Linked DNA regions of Homo sapiens: all the other regions are linked to region 2. Evidence: promoter capture Hi-C in 16 types of primary human blood cells and fetal thymus (Javierre and others, 2016). All regions are on one chromosome and are shown on one strand. Each heading gives the region's core, a stretch centred on a gene start or on the middle of the fragment in contact. The rest is flanking DNA. Distances are from core to core; before and after follow the strand shown.

What was found. The method cuts DNA at HindIII sites, captures the fragments that hold promoters and counts their contacts. A CHiCAGO score of 5 or more calls a contact.
Region 1: a contact is called between a fragment that was not itself captured here and the fragment with the promoter of ZHX1 in region 2, in 1 of 17 cell types (non-activated CD4 T cells). The highest score is 5.2, in non-activated CD4 T cells.
Region 3: a contact is called between the fragment with the promoter of FBXO32 here and the fragment with the promoter of ZHX1 in region 2, in 1 of 17 cell types (fetal thymus). The highest score is 5.1, in fetal thymus.
Region 4: a contact is called between a fragment that was not itself captured here and the fragment with the promoter of ZHX1 in region 2, in 4 of 17 cell types (total CD8 T cells, naive CD8 T cells, naive CD4 T cells and 1 more). The highest score is 6.6, in total CD8 T cells.

What each region holds. Positions count from the first base shown.
Region 1 is chr8:122,794,814-122,797,513 of GRCh38, forward strand. The region is part of intron 1 of ZHX2 (zinc fingers and homeoboxes 2); the gene reads left to right. Among named protein-coding and RNA genes, the nearest start is that of ZHX2, 15 kb to the left of the region's middle. RefSeq lists enhancers at 118-237, 548-667, 2,348-2,700, 2,428-2,517 and a silencer at 358-457. The HindIII fragment of the contact is 2,746 bases long and covers 47-2,700 here.
Region 2 is chr8:123,272,949-123,275,648 of GRCh38, forward strand. ZHX1 (zinc fingers and homeoboxes 1) reads right to left here and starts at 1,338. Exons shown (of 4, transcript NM_007222.5): 1 at 1,269-1,338. It overlaps ZHX1-C8orf76 (ZHX1-C8orf76 readthrough), which reads right to left and starts at 1,338. Exons shown (of 6, transcript NM_001204180.2): 1 at 1,269-1,338. RefSeq lists silencers at 595-962, 999-1,198, 1,399-2,088 and an enhancer at 2,569-2,688. The HindIII fragment of the contact is 9,533 bases long and covers 1-2,700 here.
Region 3 is chr8:123,539,870-123,542,569 of GRCh38, forward strand. It overlaps FBXO32 (F-box protein 32), which reads right to left and starts at 1,337. Exons shown (of 9, transcript NM_058229.4): 1 at 1,030-1,337. The coding sequence starts at 1,145. RefSeq lists silencers at 1,234-1,323, 1,374-1,483, 1,574-1,863. The HindIII fragment of the contact is 4,426 bases long and covers 1-2,675 here.
Region 4 is chr8:123,688,706-123,691,405 of GRCh38, forward strand. It overlaps ANXA13 (annexin A13), which reads right to left. Exons shown (of 11, transcript NM_004306.4): 9 at 166-241. Among named protein-coding and RNA genes, the nearest start is that of KLHL38, 36 kb to the left of the region's middle. The HindIII fragment of the contact is 2,754 bases long and covers 1-2,700 here.

The DNA.
Region 1 (2,700 bases), core at 170-2,669, 480 kb before region 2:
TAAGAAAGACTCCTGTAGTTCCTTCTTCCCAGAAAGACTATCCCCAAGCTTAGCAAAACCTACTTTTTTCTACTCTGGAGATATTTGTTCTCTTCTCTAACAGGCCAGTGTACCATGGAAATAACCTGTTAGAAATCTAAGCTGGTGGATTTTGATCTGTTTGTACATCTGCATCCCTGAAATACTATGAGCCACTTCTCCACCCCAAGGGAAATCTTCCTGTTTGTCTCCGTGTTCCCAGCACCAGCACAGGGCTGGCCCACTTCATAGGCTCAAAATTAATGTCTGTGGAATGACTGGATGGTTATATGAATGAGGAAGTGGCTCTGTCACTACAGCCTATAGGAAGTTCTATGCTCCTGGGTTGGCACAGGTGCAGAATGAGTTGCTGCTCGCTGCTGCCCCTGGTGGCAGGTCATTGCCACAGCCTGGAAGGACTGTCACTGGACTATTTTGTAACAGGAAGCAGTCAAGGCAGTGTCTATCCCAGGCCAGCTTTGTCCCAAGTTCAGGTGCTTTTGGCCTATCTTGGCCAACCTGCCTGCCTCCCTGGCCTAGCCCTGCTCCCTTGTCTGGACATCTGGCCTCTGGGCGCAAGCTGGGTCCACTTCCTCCCTTGGGCCTGGCCTTATCCCTTGTTTCCTCTTGGGAGCACCATCTCCACCTTCCTTTGTGGCACATAGAGCAATATCACAACTGTCCTTGCAGGATCTTTCTGGTACTTCCAATAGTAAACTTTTTTTTTTTAATAGAGTCTGAACTTGAGATCAAATGCTATTTAATGGTGGTAGGAAGGCAGGATGTAAATGTGTTAAGTGTCAGCCATTGAACCAAGCATGTTGTATACTATACCTTGTTTTATATTATTTAATCCCAACTACCCCCATTGGTAGAAATTTTTATACTCATTTTACATATGAGGAAATTAAGGCTTCAAAGAAATTAACTTGCCTGAGTTACACAGTAAAAGGCAAGGCTGGGATTTGAAGCCAGGTCTGAGTGACATCTGATCCCATATACTTGCCCTGTCACAGTGCTGGACTGTTATGTAAAGGACATAAAGATTCTGTGTTAAGGCCAGGCGCGATGGCTCACGCCTGTAATCCCAGCACTTTGGGAGGCCGGAGGAGGCAGATCACCTGAGGTCAGGAGTTCGGGACCAGCGTGGCCAACATGATGAAACCCTGTCTCTACAAAAAATACAAAAATTAGCTGGGCATGGTGGCAGGCGCCTGTAATGCCAGCTACTTGGGAGGCTGAGGCAGGAGAATCGCTTGAACCCAGGAGGCAGAGGCTGCAGTGAGCTGAGATCATACCACTGCACTCCAGCCTGCACAATGGAGCGAGACTCCATCTCAAAAAAAAAAAAAAAAGATTAAATCCTTAGCAAGTAGGATATGTAGACACTGGCCCTGTCTTCCCCACTAGAGTTTAAGATTTTGCTTATGAGAGACCACACAACGGGAACTAGTAACAGCAGCATCTTTTACCTTTCCCTTTGGAGGCACGTCTTGTCACTAACACAGCCTCTCATCCTCAAGACACTGTCCTCTTGCAGTTTTGTCACCAGTGGGATGGTGGGATTATTAAGATTTACTTAGTGTGCTAAGTACTTACTTAGTACTTACTAAGATTTATCTTAGTGTGCCATCTTGTGTAATAGGAAAATGGGCTTGGGATTCCAGTCTGATATTTGTGTGTGCACATGCCCATGCTTAAGTAATAGAATAGCAGACCATTCTGTAACAACTGTGTGTAGGGGAGAAAATCTAGTTTCCTTTTTTTCCCTTTTTAGGTTCTTTGTGGAAACGCTGTCCTGAAAATAAAAGTCAGATTAACAGAAGACAAACAACCAAACGTTTATTAATGCGTGCTCTGCCCATCACATGGGAGAGGCCTTAGTTTAAAAGTATTTCTTTCTCAAGGTGGTGGCTTAGGGACCTTGCTTAAATAGTATTTTAACAAAGGGCCATAAATCCTATATAGTGACAAGACAAAGAAGAGAGCAGTTCCAGTCTTTGAAAAAGCGGGAAAATGTGGGAAGACAGTAAAATCTGTTCCCAGATTCCTCGGGTGCCTGCTGGTGCCTCCTTTGGTCTCCTAAGTCCGTGCTGTCTCCAGTAAGGAAAGATTTGTGTCCTCCCATCAGGCAGATGCAGGCCGGCCAGGGGGTTCCTTGGCATTGTCAATGTCTTTCACTTAACGATCCTCAATAGTTTGGAGAAAAGTATTTTGGTTTCCTTCAGGTGCAGGAAACCTCTGGGATAGGCATTGGATGAGATATGTGAGTAATCAGGTTAGGCTAAGCTATGATACAGTGACAGGTAAACCCCAATATCCCAGTGGCTTCATAAGGCAGAGTTTATTTCTTCCTTTCATGAAGTCCACTGAAGGACTACAGCTCTGTAAGGCAGCTTTCCTCCAAGCTGTGACTTGGGGATCCACGCTGCTAAAATTTTGTAGCCACTTCATTTGAAACAACTGGCTTTCAGGCTGCTGGAGGAGAGGAAGAGAAAAGGAAAGGGGTATGTACCCACTTTCTAAAGTTGCCACTTCTGCTCACACAACCTCGCAAAGCCGCAAGGAGCCTGGAGACTGTGGGGGAAGCACATGACCGTCGGGCCAGTAGTGCCTGTTTCTGCACAGAGAACCCTGGGCTGGCTGTGCTGCTTCAGCAAGCATTGTGCCTTTTCTCTTCCG
Region 2 (2,700 bases), core at 88-2,587:
TTCTCTCAAATATTAGCTCTTCGCATTTTTTTTTTTTTCTAATAGCTGGGCTGAGTTGACAGAAAAGGGCTGTGGAATTCCTGCTCTGTCCGATATCTTCCCTGTATTCCTCTTTTCTCATCCCTAGTCTCTGTTCTAATTCCCCCGCCTGCTGTCTCTCATTGACGCCTTCCCAGCTGCTGGATCCTTCACTAACCTAAGCTAAGGATATCAAATGGAATCTTTTCCTTCTCAGGGGCTATGCTCTTTCCTTACAGTTACCCACGGAGGAGAGAGGACAGGAAAGGTACTAAAACAAAGAATTGCCAAGTCCCTTTACCTCCAACTTTGGTGTAAATATATAAGGAAAGGGGATCTGCCAGGGCTCTTCTTTCCTGCCCTTAGACCTTGTTCCTCTCACACCTCTCCTTCCCAGCCTTTTATACCCCTTGAGGTATTAGTAGATTGTTCACTGTGGGCCCTAAGGCTTGGAGGATTCCCATGGGTCAGCCCCCACACCCCCACGCCCCTACCATCCTCTTTAATTAACTTCTCCCTAAATCCCAGGGCTTCGTCACAATCGTAATATGGTTCTTAAGGACTCAACTCCCAGTCTTTCCCAAAGTTGGGACATGGCCTGGCCCCGAAACGGGTGCGCATAGCCTTCCTTGAACTGGAGGTAAAGACTTCTCCTGAAGGGTTTGCTGGGGCTCCAACCTCAGTCAGTGCGCTCAGCTCCAGCAAGAGAATCTCTCCTTACTCTCAGGGAGACTGGGTCCCCCACGAGGCAGCCACACGCCCCCGGAGGACAGCGCTCCTGACCTCCTCTAGGACTCCCAACATTACTGGGGTGCTCCCTCCGGCGGCGCCCTCCGCTGGGAATACGCAGTCTTCACTCCTCTCAACAATCCTAAGTTGCTGGGTCCTCACCAAGGCAGGGGGCTGAGATGTTCCCTCCAGAGAGCCCCCCGCCCCCAAGCTCTTTCGGTGGCGGAGACACCCAAAAAGAGCGAGGGAGGCTGTGGGTCTGTCTGTCCCTCTGCGGCGACTACCCAGCCGCGAGGCAGGCCCCGTCCCTCCCCCTCGGACGCCCCACGCCGGGTCCACCCCGCCACCCGCCGCCGCGAGCGGGCTCAGCCCCAGGGGTCTCTGCTGTGAGGCTGCCCTCCTCCCGCCAGGCCCCGCGCTACTCGCCTTTCCCGTGCCGGCCGCGGACTCTGCGCTCCAGTTCCCACCCGCAGCCCAGAGTCTCCGGGCCCGCTGGTCGCGGAGCCGGCTCGCGCCACTACCTGCAGGGGCCGCCGCGCCTCTCAGCGCCACGCCGCCGCCATCTTGCATTTCAAACCGGCTGCACTTTTCAGGGAGTCAACTCTGACCTGTGAACCCTAAACCCGGAACCGCTCGGCGGGCCCGCAAAGGGGCCTCAGCAGCTCGGTGGCCCCGCGGAGTGTGGGGACTCAGGGTGGGGGTGCGAGGAGAGGCGCGCGCCCCAGCGGCCGTCCGGGGGCGGAGGGGGAAGGGAGAGAGCCGGCCAAGGCGGGGCCCTCCCGCGCGCGCGTCCTCCGCGCGCCCCCACCCCGTGCGGCGCCGAGCTCTCCACGCCCAGACCCTGCTACTCCACTGGGGTCCGACCCCGGCCCCTAGTCCGGGGATTGGCGCACCGCGGGAGGTAGGGAGGCGCCCCGCCCCCCTGTCAACAGAAGCCCCGCCCCAGACTGCGGAAGCTCCGCCCCCTGTCAGGAGACGCCCCGCCTTCCCAGGGCTCGAAATGGCCCCGCCCTTTGCCTGCGACCGCTCCGCCCGCTGTGGACTGAAGCCTGGTCTTCTCTCGGGTCAGCACAGAAGGCAGCCCCGCCTTCCTTGCGCTCCGCCTTCCTAATGTCACTGCTGGATCGTGAGAGGTAAGCATGCTGGCTTCTACTGAAACGCCCCTTGTCATCACACGCCCATCCCCTGGGGCGACACGACCCAGGCCCCGCCCCTCGGGGGGCTGCTGCGAGTCCGGCCGGGAGCCCAGCGCCCTGACAGAAGTCGCCGCGCCCCTTGTCAGCGGCAGCTCCACCTCTCCTCGCTTCGGACCCCGCTCCTCCGCGGGCCGCAGCTCCACCCGCTGACACCGAAAGTTCAGTTCAGCTGCACTCAGAACCGCCGGGCAAGGCGGAGCCGCCCTCTGCCCCTCAGCCGCCCTCCTCCCTGCGAACCGCCACTCGCTCTTCCAGAGGCTTCTGTCCGAGTCGAGGGCTTCACATCCCGTCGGCTTTCAGGGAACCAGCCCCGCAGCGGGGCCAGCGAGGGCCAGGGGTTTCGGGAACACTGCCCGGCGTCTCCGCCCCTCCCTACTCACTTTCCCTTTCCCCCGCACCGCGGTCAGAACGTGGAGGAACAGAACCAAAGCGGAGAGCGGCGACTCACCCTCCAGCTGCTCCACACGCCGGGCCTTGGACGCTCGAGCGCTCCTGGGCCCCTTGACGTTCACTCCCCACCCCCATCCCAGTCGCGGACCCTTTGTGCAGAGCTCCGCTGAGCCACAGTAATCCTAAAAGCACAGCAGAGCTCCGCTGAGCCACATTAATCCTAAAAGATGCAATTGCTTCAAGTGGAAGTCTGATTTTTTTTTTTTTTTTGAGACGGAGTCTCGCGTTGTCGCTTAGGCTGAAGTGAAATGGCGCGATCTCTGCTCACTGCAACCTCTGCCTCCCGGGTTCAAGCGATTCTCCTGCC
Region 3 (2,700 bases), core at 87-2,586, 270 kb after region 2:
GGGTGACTCTGGCTGCACCAGTCCATTCTGGAATCACTTTCATCGCCCCCGCTCACCGGGCTAAATGCTGAGAGTCTCTGAAAGTCAACTGTCGAGGTCAGGGGCTGAGAAATTCCAGGCTACCTTGCGTACTAGCCGGCGCTGGCATCGTTAGCCAAGCTGAGCAGGGAGCGCAGCGGACCTCAGGTTTCCCGCCAGACCACAGAGCTCAGGTGAGGCCTCGAATCCAGAGGCTCACCGGGGCCAGGCAGGCTTTTCGCAGCTGACAGGCACCCCTGGAAACGGAGTGCACTCTATACAAAGCAGACCGACCGAGAGGGCCACCGAGGAAACAGGTGCAAGAGCCCTGTCCTCCCAGAAGCAGAGCTCTTGTGGGATTCATCCCCTGCCCCCTTCCCTCCTTTGCACCTCTGCAGCCCCAAGCCTCCACCGCTCGCAAGTCCGCCCAGTAAGCGGCTGCCCCAGGGACCATCTGGCCGTCCCTTCCTGGTTACTCATCCTCCCGGCCACTTCGTGGTTGCCCGTGCCTGGGCAGGGCCTGGAAGCGCTCCAGGCGGGACCTTCGTCGGATCCCGTCACCTGTCGCGTCCACAGCGCTTGGGCGCTGGGAGCCGGGCCACCCCGCGGTGAAGGGGCTCAGCCCACCCGCCCGCGCCCCCACATGGGCAAAGTGCGCGACTCCGGTGTCCTTAAAGCAGGGACCACTAAAGCTGTGTGATTAAGTTTGAGCGAACGTTTGGGGACACGATCCGCGAATGTCATCAGACTCTCAGAGGGACCAGGTGTTCTGTAAGGAGTCGTGTCCACTTGGAGACACTGACCTTGAACAATAAGAGAAACCGAATTCCCTGTCTCCGGTGGTCCGAAGACCTCTGCAGAAATCGGGCCCCGTAGTCCCACCCTCCGGGTCAGGGTCTCCCTCCTCAGCCCGCTCCAGCCCTGCCTGCCCCTCATTCGCCGTCCCTGCGCCCCCCAGACCAGCCCGGGTCAGTTTCGCGGGGGCTGGAAGTTGGTAGCGGGTCCCCTCACCTGCTGAGGTCGCTCACGAAACTGCCGCTCTTCTCATCCAGGAAGCGCTTCCAGCCGTCGGCCGTCTTCACCCAGTTCTGCCCGGGGGACCGCCAGTCCTGCCCGAGGAATGGCATGGCACCGCGAGCGGACTAGACGGATGGGGAGACGGGGCCGGCCTGGTGGGCTCGGGGACGTGCCACCCGGGGCGGATGCTCGGGGTGCAGGGGCCCGCGACGGGGGCGGCGGGGCGGCGGGAACGGCGCGGGGCACCCTGCGGGGTGGCGGGCGCGGAGAGGATCTCAAGCGTTGCAGGCTCCGGGAGTGCTGCGCGGCAGTAGCTGCCGCAGTATTTATCCCCGCAGCCGGCCGCAGCTCTTTGTTGCCGGAAGAGCCGCCCGCTCTTAGCCCGGCCCCCCGGCCCGGAGGCCACGTGGCTTTGTTTATGGGCTCGGCTTGTTTTCCGAGGCGCCTGCGGCTCACGCTCCCCTCCCGGTTGCACAACCGCGCCGGTGGAAACTTGAAGCGGTGCTGCCGGGCCGGGTACCCCGCCGCCCCTGGCACCTCCGCGCGCCCTCCCCGCCCCCAGGACACCGTTGTCCCAGAGCGAGGCCCGGCGCTTGGAAAGATGCGCCCCGGTCTCCTGCAGCTCCCGGGCTGACGGGGTGCAGGGAGGGGGCCGGAGGGGCGTCTGGGTCCCTGCGGGGTGGGCGTGAGGAGCAGGGCCAGCCCCCCTCCTGCCCCCGAGCTATCAGGATCGACCTCCGCAGCCAGATCAGCCTCCCGGGCCGTCCGCAGAGCTGGGGCCGGCACCGCGCCCGCCGGGCGGGGAGTAGGGGGCGCAGCCTCCTGACCTCGCTCACTGCCCCAACCCCGCCCTAGCGCGCGGGGGTTGGAGCGGGGAGGAGGGACAGCCTCCCAGCCCTCCGGGCCCCTTAGCTGTCACTAACCAGTCCTCCTTCAGACCTGCCCCTGGGGCAGCAAAGGAGGGGAAGGAGAGGAAGCCCTGGGAGGTATCTGGCTCCCGCAGGTTGGGAGTGGAGAAAAAGAACAGCGCCCCTATCCTACCCGAACCCTCTAAGAGACGGGTTAAATGATGTACCCAGGGCCAATGCTACAGTACAATCTGAAACTACCCTGTTTGCTTTTACTTTTTGCTGTTGTTACAACAATCTACCCCTGTCTGCAGTGGGAACTCCATGAGAGCTGGTCTGTCTTGTTCCGGAGGCATTTCAGCCCCTGCACCCTGCCAGGCCCAGTGCAGGCCTTCAACAACTATTTGTGTGAATAAGTGAATGGATACGGGAGGCTGCTGGCATGAGGGTGGCTTCTTGCCCTTCATCACCTCTAGTTATGATGCTTTACAGCCTGGTCTATTTGGCAATTAGTTTGCACAGGACAGCAGCAGCAGAGTAAAAATCCCATACTCAAGCATTAGCTTCAAACTTCATTCTTCCATTCTTCTTTCTCTGCAGCCATCAATATCATCTAGTCCACTGACTCGGTGTAATCTTTAAGGCTCAGGCAAAGAAATTGTGTGTGCCCTATGAGGCTACATGTTGGACTGGGAAGACGTTTTTAATAAAGTTTGTTTTCAAGAAGCCAGAGCTTTCTGATTTAGATTTCCCACCGTAAATAATTTATTAGTGTAGTAATAGTAAAAAAAAAGCTTGTAAAAACATTGAAGAAGTC
Region 4 (2,700 bases), core at 104-2,603, 420 kb after region 2:
CCCTGTTGCAACTACATCACAGTCACTCTCTCTCTTGCTCAGTGCTGCTTAGACCTGTTGACCCCCAAAAGCTATTCCCTCAAATCTTCCTACACACAAACCTCTGTCTGAGTCTGGTTCCAGGCAGCCCAACCTAAGACAGGAGCTCTCCTAACTTTACTTTACCGAGAGTTAAATAGGCCTTCTGCAAGTCGCCTGATGTTTCTTCTTCAATGGCTTCTTCTATGTCTTTGCCAATGAGCTGCAGCGAAAACCAAAATCAACTGTTATTCCAGGTTTGCCTTTGACCTTAGTACTCTTGGGGTTGTTCCTCTACAAAAAGCACTCAAGTTTTCCAGATTTAGTCCTGTGGCTTCAGGGAACTGCTATCCTGACTCTTGCCTTGTAGGATTGGGGTGTTTGCCACCCATTCGAGAGAGGGCTCTCGTTGCTGAGGAGTCAGTCTAGATTTGACTCCCAATGGATTTGACCTTAGTGCCACTCCCTCAACCTCAATTTCCTCATCTGTAAAATTTGGGAGTGGAGAAACAATTAATATATAATATATATTATAATATATATAATTAATATATTATATATACTATAATCATAGATTTTTTTTTTAACATTGATGTGTAGTTTAGTTCCCATGTGTTCTTCACCCTTTCCAGTTTCAATTTCCCAGGAGGCTGTGGTTATGATCATCTGACATGCACCTCCATCCTCTCCCTTGTCTTGGGACCAGGGACTTAGTCACAGTTTGAGTGAAATAAGTAGGCATGGTGAAGTTCATGATAACAACTTGATCTAAAGTTCCTGAGAGGGTGGGTCTGCAAGGGCTGGGAGCCGGGGGTGCTGACCACATCAAAATGCCACTTGTCTTCACTCTGGGGTGATTCCAAATAATCCTATATTCACCACTGGCTCACATATTGCTCTGCGCAGCATTACACATTAGGTTTCTTTCTAAATATTTACAGAAGCTGAAGTTCAGAGTAAATTGTGACTATCCTTAACACAAATACTGCCCGGGCCAAGCTCAGGGCAGGCACATAAAGAGAAAGGAGAATGCTTTGCTGGGTTTGGAGAAATGCAATTAAGCATTAGAAACACTGAAATTTCTTTCTTAGAAATTATCTTTTGAGGATATGACACAATTGATTCTATAAATAATTGGGGACTTTGAGTATGCACCAGTGGAGTTTATGTGGTTTATTTTGAAAACACAGGTAAACAAAATGTTCTTTGTGATGTAAGCACAATATATGTCGGGGGAGGAACTGTGTCCAGATTTAATGAAGCCCTGTTGCTTGATCTCCTAGTCATTGTTTGCATATCTGGAGGCCTTGGTGTGTGGCAATAGAAACCAGATTAGAAGAGTGGGGGAACTGTCCCTTCCTTAGCTGCCCCCAGTCTTTTTTGGGTTTGATGTGGGAGTCATTATTTTGGAAGGGATTGGTATCCCTTTCCCAGAAACAAGGTTCTTGTTCTGTAGACTGAGATCATACTTCAAGAGAACATTTTGTTCACACAGGTCTTGTTTACTTTAAAAAATCCTCACATTAAACCGTTTTCCATTTCTATTGTTAATACCAGGCTAGAGCAGGGATTTTAAATTTTCTGTAGAATCTCAGCCTACAAAACAGATGAAAGCAGAAAGCAGAGCTGTGCTGGGAGGCGGGAGGTGGGCTCCTTTCCCTTGCCATTGGCATCTATACCATGTTTTTGCCCGCTCAGGTTTTTTCCTTGCACAACTCCAGGAGGCGCTATTCACACACTGCAACAAGAAGGTACTGCCCTGTCTGCTTCCTGCCCCACCCTACTCCTGGTAGCTGCTGAGGCGTCTCCGTGGGACACAATCTGAAACAATGGTCTGGCCCAAGCTGTTGGGACTGTACTTTGGATACTTCTCACTTCAGTTACTGCAACGTGATTCTTAGGGGCTCTTTGTACAGAAGCAGATTTTCTGATCTCAGTAGAAAAACACATTATAAGGGTAGATTCCAAACAAGTCTCTAAGACTCTAGTTAAACAGGCAGCAATGCCTGCAGGGAGGTTATTAGAGGAGCAGGGGAGACATTTCTTTCTTTGAAAATCGGTTTCCCCAAATGGACGGCACGCTGACAGCAGAGCCCTCTGTGCTCTGGCACTGACTATAGCAGTTAGAGGGCTGAAGCCTCTGGCGTGGAATAAGGAACATGTACAGGGGAGGGGCAAAGGGTGAGGCACGCAGTGAGGTGGCAGCAAAGTGGGCTATGGGTATGCATACCTACTGTTTATGCTGAGCCCTGTTTGGGGACTTTACTTTGGTTTTATAGCTATATAAGTCTTTCATATTTGGTAACGCTGGGGACTGTAATAATCCTGCATGATGCAGAAGTTTGGGAAACTGTTGCGTGGCCTGGGATTGCTGGGAGTGTCAGAAGTTAAGACTCAGGCTTAGAGCATAAATAAATGGCAAAACCCTGAGTTTTTGTGCTGAAAATTAAAATTCAACCCTAAGCCAGGACGACTCATGCCACATAAGAAACTCCAGTGATCTCAGACTAGCATCTCTGTGCTTTTGGTCAGAAGCCATCAGAAAAATCATAGAACCAGGGTCTAAGAGCAGGCTGAACTCTAAAAACATCAGCAATAAATATCAAGAATGACACTTGAGCAAGGCTTTTGAAATGGATGAATAGATAGCATTTTAGAGCTGGTTTCATGTAAAGAATCATC